Regions from separate parts of the Homo sapiens genome. Here region 2 is linked to region 1. Evidence: promoter capture Hi-C in 16 types of primary human blood cells and fetal thymus (Javierre and others, 2016). All regions are on one chromosome and are shown on one strand. Each heading gives the region's core, a stretch centred on a gene start or on the middle of the fragment in contact. The rest is flanking DNA. Distances are from core to core; before and after follow the strand shown. Region 1 holds the start of ANKRD55 (ankyrin repeat domain 55). Region 2 overlaps GPBP1 (GC-rich promoter binding protein 1).

Region 1 (3,770 bases), core at 853-3,352:
ACTTCCATGGGAGAGAATCCGGCCCAGGTGGAGGAATTGCTGTGAATTGCTCACATGAAAGGTGTTAAAAGAAAATCAGTCTTGTAATTCTGTATCTTAACTATGTTTGGGGCTCAATCCTGTTAGAAGGTACAGCACTGGAACATGTAAATTCATTATGAAGAGCTAGTTCTTCTTCAGTCAGTCCCAGCTCCCTCCAATTAGTCTTCAAAAATAAACCCATTGTATGTTTCGTGGCTTAGCAACATCATTTTTCAGCCAGTGTGAGCTCTTTGGTTCTTAGCAGATTTTCACTTTTACTGACTGCCATCAGTGATATAAAATGTACCAGGAGGAGAGGATGGTGGTGGGCACAGCTGTGACAACGCCTTTCTCTATGCTGTTCAGATCCAAACACGGTATGAGCCGGCACGTTCTGAAGGCGCGCACACACACACACACACACACACACACACACACACACACACACATACACATACACAAACACTATTCCAAATGAGCTAAGACCTGGAGAACACACTATACACATATATACATTAGCTAACTCAGGAATCTAAATATAAATTTATTTTTGGAGAAACCCCCTGGGCTAAAATAATTCACCCACAAAGCCAGATGTAGCTTGAGGGGTAATAAACATGCTATGGCCTAGAGCAGGAAAAGGGAAAAAAGAATGAAGCAGTACATTTTCTTAATGAGGCTTTTTCAAACCACCATTTCATGTTGTAGCCAAAACAGATAAAATCACCAAAGGAACTTAGGATCTTGAAGAATATTCAGAGACTGTAGAAAGTGGTTTAAATAATAGATATTTAAGAAAAGATTCTAAAAAATATTTATTATGTTTATAAAATGGAAATTTCATGTTTATACTAAAAAAAGATTTACTATTACACATAAGTATTACACGAAGATGTATATAAACACATTGCATATGCAAAATGTATACACATAGACCACATGGCCAAATATGTGATATTATAAGGATAAGTTGATCTCACAGCAACATTTTGATGTGGAAAATTACCTCCACTCCAGAAATTATAAGTAAGGAAGATATACCCTGGCATTGCAAATAATAGCATAGGGATATGTCATTACACAACCTTGGATGAGATAACATATCAACCCGACATAAATACAGGCAACATCTATTCCTGAAAGGAATAAAAAAATGCTTACGAAGATACAGCAATGAGATACTGGGCTAATCGAATGACAAAAAAAATGTGATGTGTTCTTACATTGCTTACCCTAATTTTTAAAAAAGATTTGGAAAAAACAGAATAAAGATGACACTATCTGAAATAGTTGGTGTGCTTGAAATCCAGTTTTTAAAATTTGAAGGTAGGAATACTTCAACAAGATCATAAGCTTATACAACAGATCATAAGCTTATTTTTCTGTTTCAGATGCTTATCAAACTAGAAGTGAACATTTTGAACAGGTTTGTTTTCTAGGTGAAATCCTCTTTCCACATCCTACATAGCAAATACTCATGCACACCCACGCACATGAACACACACACACACACACACACACTTCTCTTTCTCTCCTTACAACTGTAAATCCATACCATGAGACTAAGGATGCTAACAACCAAAGAATGTGTTAAAGCAGCATTTTACCTCTTTGCTGATCAAACACAGAAGGGGTGCTGAAATCCATGGTAGCCTGTCTCATCATTTACCATCAGAATGGCAAAAAGCATCCAGGTCTCTAGAGAGGAGAAAACACCATCTCAAACCTTACTGTCAACATGACAGTCAGAGGCAGCATCGTTTGCCAAGACCTCTGTTTCAGGATTAAATGTGCATCAGAGCTGCAGGTTGTTGTCAAGGCAAGGTGATGAAAATAGGTAAATGCTATTCCTGTAAATACCTGCTAGGAAAAGAGTTACTCTATGGCCTCATTCATCAGCTGTACATGGGCATAATACACCCTCCACCCCCAAATCAATAAACACAATTACTCAAACTCCAAAAAGATAGTAAAATTGTATGGGCCACCTGCCTTGGATCTGGGCTGGAAAAACACAGCAGATCACGGAGCTTCAGCAGCTGGAATGTCGCTTTACACCAACAGAAATCTGAATGGGTGAGTGAGGATTCACAGGGCCAGACAGAGCATGTGCAAAGCTGCCAATGCAGTTCGCATTCGGCTGTGCTTTTGGCGGAGTGAGAACTGCATTTGGGTCATGTGAGCAGAGAGTGCCATCTCAATGGAATAGGATGTAAATATTGTAGCAGGAGGCTGCTGGCCATGTGCTGTGTGGAGTAATTATCCATGTTGGCAGTCTTCTTCACTCCCCTTTCAGCTCCGTTCTCCAATTGACAGGGAGGATGGGGAAAGGCGTCATTTGAAAGGTGACATTTCAAGGCTCGAGTGTCTGTGGTGATAAAATTAAAACAGTCTGCTGTCACAAGGGTGTTTATTGTAGCATTACATGTAGTAAAACCTGAAAAATCACCCGAATGTACCTCATTCAGGGAGCAGCTAAGTAAATGGTAGTAAATTCGTACTCTAGATTTAAAAATCTGACATAAATAAATCTGTGTATTTATCTGGTGACATGTCACTAATCTATTGTTAAATGAAATAAACAAGTTATATATTTCATTTGTTCGTGTTTTAATAAAACCGGAAACCACTCACTGTATACATTATTTTTATATATTCAGACGAACACTGAAAAAGATGTAGAAAGATACGTACTAAACTGCTAATATTGGTTCCCTCAGGCCACTGTGATTAGAGTAGGAGATTTCTAACTTGTTCTGTATCAATCTCTGTATTTTTGGCTTGTTAATAACCAGTATCTATTATCTTGTATTTGTAATAAAAATATGATATACTAAATTCAAACAAAGTTCTATATTCTAGGCACAACCAGATTTTTGGATAAGTCAAATAGCCATATAGTAGATGCTTGTTGAATCTAATAATAAACACCAGCTTCCTTTGCCCTTGGATAGGATGATTCTGAGGCATGGTGTTTTACTCCGTTTGCCATTTCCCTTTCAGGATTAAACTCCTTCAGGGTTAAACTCCACTGCCACCTGTGAGAATAGGTCTAATAACGTTCTTTTTATGGGCTGCTGTTCCCTCCCTGTATTACTTTCCCACGTTCCTACTGATATTTCCTGCACTTCTCAATAAGTTACTTGCATTGGAATCATTGTCTCAGGGTCTGCTTTTACGGAAACCCAAATTAAAATATTTCTCCACAAGAGGGTACATTTCATAAGGGCAGGGTCTTTGTCTACTCTTTCTTTGTCTGCTTTGTCCACTCCATGTCCTTACAGCCTAGCACAGAGAGGGGCACAAAGGAGGTGCTCAGTACATTTCAGTGCATGAGTGAAACTTCACTGAAGAACTTTCCTTGCTCAAGCTGACAACCTGCTCACTGACATTGTAACATTGGAACCCAATTAACCATCCTTCATGGGGTAAGAACTTTCTGACAAGAACTTCTGTAGTCCTTGAAATTTTCTAGTCTAAACAAGAAACCATGTACTTGAGGATTGGTTCTAGGGTTTCTGGAATTGGCTCTCAAATCTGATTAAATTTAAGGATTCTAATAGCTTTATTTCTAGGAGTAAAGAGAGCATTGATAGTCCATGGTGTGAAGTGGTAATAGAGATATGCAAAAAGCTGCACTGAATATTCCTAATTAATCACTGGACACAACAGGCAAGGAGTTGGGTGACTGTGTAGATGATACCCTCAAACATTTTTGGAAACTTAATGAATATGGCTGGTTGCTCCTA
Region 2 (3,232 bases), core at 448-2,947, 1.0 Mb after region 1:
TTTTACTTATATGATCTTGATTGTTCATGTGTAAAATGTGGATATCATGTTATGTTTTATTCAAGGTCTCAGATATTCTGTGAGACTCTGAAAAAAGGTCTAAAAGTCTATAAGCAGCTATTGTGTAGCAGGTGCAAGTTAAAAGATGAGTAGGTGTAAATAAGAGGGGACTTAAACGTTTGTGGAACAATGTAATTAAATGATAAAAACTATTAACTCTGTTTTTCAACATAACTCCATCAAGTTCAAGACCCTTTTGTAAGCAATGATAGCAGTCATTTAGACCATCCCTGAAGAACTGAGGGCCCTGGCAGTTTAACCGTGTCAGTGCTGTCTTTTTTACATTAACTGAAGAAAAATGGGCCCCCTCTAAAATTTAAGATTAGGAAATGAAGTCAGAAGGAGCCAAATCAGGACTGAAAGGTGGATGCCTAATGATTTCCCATTGAAACTTTGCAAAGGTGCCCTTGTTTGATGAGAGGAATGAGCAGGAGTATTGTGGTTAAGGACTCTCTGGTGAAGCTTTCCCAGGCATTTTTCTGCTAAAGCTTTCCCAGGCATTTTTCTGCTAAAGCTTTAGCTTTCCTTCTCAAAACACTCTCATAATAAGCAGATGTTACTGTTCTTTATCCCTTCCAAACAACTGTTGCCATGACCTTTGCTCTTGACTGGTCCTCTTTTGCTTTGAGTGGATCCCTTCCACTTCTTGGTAGCTAGTGCTTTGATTGTGATTTGTCTTCTGGATCATACTGGTAAAGCCATGTGCAGTTCTTTGAAGAAATGCTTCAGAATCTTGATCCCACTTGTTTAAACTTTCCATTGAAAGCTCTATTTTTGTCTGCAGATGATGTGGGCACACATTGAGTGGAAATTATTCAACTTTAATTTTTCATTCAGAATCATGTAAGCTGAACCAAGTGAGATGTCTTGTCTGTGGTATTGGCTATTTCTGTTGTTAATCGTCAGTCCTCTTCAGTTAGGGCACTAACAAGATTAATTTTTTCCTTGTCAATTGATGGGGATGATCTGCTGCTGCTTCTGTGAGGGCTTCATCTTCAGAATCACCTCATCTTTTCTTAAAATGAGTTATCTATTTGAAATTTCTTGTTTCCTTGGGGTATTGTCCCCATAAACTTTTCGTAAAGCATCAGTGATTTCATTATTCTTCCACCCAAGTTTCACCATAAATTTGGTATTTGTTCTTGCTTCGATTTTAGCAGAATTCATGTTGATCTGATAGGGGCTTTTCGCAAACTGATGTCTTACCTTTGTGGTGCCTTAAACAAGATTCTGTTGAAACATGTTATCACAAGTTAGCACAAGTTTATTTTGGTGCAGAATTTTTTTCTTGAAATTCTTGCATAGTTTTTCCATGATACACATTTTTTATGAACTTTTTGAAGACTCCTTGTAGGAGTAACAGAAGTACTTAGGGGTTTCATTTTTTAAAAACAAACCCTTTCATATCAATACAAGATATGTGGCCATATAAGAAACAAGCTTGGAGGTTTCCTGATCAAATGAAGTAGCTATTGATGCAGTGTTCATGACTGCCCAAGTAGAAAACCTAATGAGTAGTCAGAAATATGGTGGTACTGAAGAAAAAGAGGAGTGATATTGCTGTTACTTTTAGTATAAGAATTTAGCAGATTTGCTTCACATCTGTTAAAAGTTTCCAGCCTGAAGAGCCTTTGACACCAAGGATTAAGCAGTCAAGGAGTTCATTCTAATTTTAATATCAGTTTATTAATCTTACCTGTTTATTCATTTTCAGAAAGATACTCAAAGCCTGAGCTCAAAAATCCTTTTGATGTGTCTTGGGGTCTTTGTATAATGGATCCTGGTGGATCATGTTTTCTTATACATAATGTAAATGATACTGTCCTACTCAGGGTAAGCTTTACATTAAACTTAATTTCCTCTCCTTTTCAGATTGTTAAAGGAAATGGGCTGGCAGGAAGACAGTGAAAATGATGAAACATGTGCTCCCTTAACTGAGGATGAAATGAGAGAATTCCAAGTTATTAGTGAACAGGTAAGAAAACCTGAATCATACAACTTCACTTTTAAACTGCCCTTATTTAGAACAATATAATTATATGTAAGCATGGAGTGGGGGAGATTTAGGAATTTATCACGATAGGTCAGAATTGCTTTTAAAAAAAAAAAGAGGGAGGACAGGCTTTTGCTATGGTGTCCAGCTGGCCTCTAGAACTCCTGGGTGCCAGGTGATCCTCCAACCTTAGCCTCTGGAGTAACTGGGACTACAGGCAGGAACCACTGCACCTGGTTGAATTGACTTTATAGAAGTCTGCAATAGTGACTTATTTAAACTATTGGGTGTGCAATAGTTAGGAATTAGTGTAAGTGATGTCTATGGATTAGTCATTTTCCAGACCTTTTTTGTTTTGTTTTTTGTTTTTGTTTTTGGCTTTTCTGGGGGAGGAGCAAGAGTGATAAGAAGTAGAGAGTGTTAGTAGCTTCCTAAGTAACTTCATCTTTTATCCTTTTCTTGCACAAGAGTATTTCATATTCTAAAACATCTTGCTTAATGTCTCCCTAGTTACCTTTCTGAAAGAGTATTAGGGAATTTTTGTTAGAGCATCAGGAAGTTGAGATGCTTTTTTTCAAATCGATTATTTGTTTATTTAAAGAGTTGGGGTCTCACTCTGTCATCTAGGCTGGAGTGCAGTGGCTGGTCATAGCTCACTGCATCCCCAAATTTCTGGGCTCAAGCAATACTCTTGCCTCAGCTTCCTGAGCAGCTGGGGCTACTGGCTTGTGCCACTACACTGGGCTTATTTTCTGTCTTTAAATTGTTTCTAATTTGGGCCAACTATCTTTTTTCTTCTTTGATGATGTTTTGACTCAATTCTTATTTATTACCAACCTTTTAGTTATGATTTCTCATTTTCAGAAATAGAGAACTGTATTTTTTCTAGTATCTTCATCTCCGGTTAAACGAGACAATTTTGTAACTTTATATACCTCATTCTACTTTACAAACTATGAACAAAGCAGATTGGGGGGTGTATTAATTTAGGTCAGAATAATAAAAATAACAGATACAGCTTAATGGTTTCTGATTATATTCTGGTAAGTCCCTGAAGGTATTTATTACAGTTGTCACTTGAGGCAATAAAAATGTGGGAAAGTTTAGTACCTTAATCAGTGTGACAATTATTACTCACATCTACTTTGTCTGGATCCAGAATTTTTTCAGAAATATCAT

The links. The method cuts DNA at HindIII sites, captures the fragments that hold promoters and counts their contacts. A CHiCAGO score of 5 or more calls a contact.
Region 2: a fragment that was not itself captured here is called in contact with the fragment with the promoter of ANKRD55 in region 1 in 1 of 17 cell types (naive B cells); the score reaches 5.1 in naive B cells.

Annotation. Positions count from the first base shown.
Region 1 is chr5:56,231,228-56,234,997 of GRCh38, forward strand. It overlaps ANKRD55 (ankyrin repeat domain 55), which reads right to left and starts at 2,103. Exons shown (of 12, transcript NM_024669.3): 1 at 2,014-2,103; 2 at 1,629-1,719. The coding sequence starts at 1,686. The HindIII fragment of the contact is 3,640 bases long and covers 1,393-3,770 here.
Region 2 is chr5:57,259,248-57,262,479 of GRCh38, forward strand. GPBP1 (GC-rich promoter binding protein 1) reads left to right here. Exons shown (of 12, transcript NM_022913.4): 11 at 1,933-2,035. Among named protein-coding and RNA genes, the nearest start is that of GPBP1, 87 kb to the left of the region's middle. The HindIII fragment of the contact is 398 bases long and covers 1,499-1,896 here.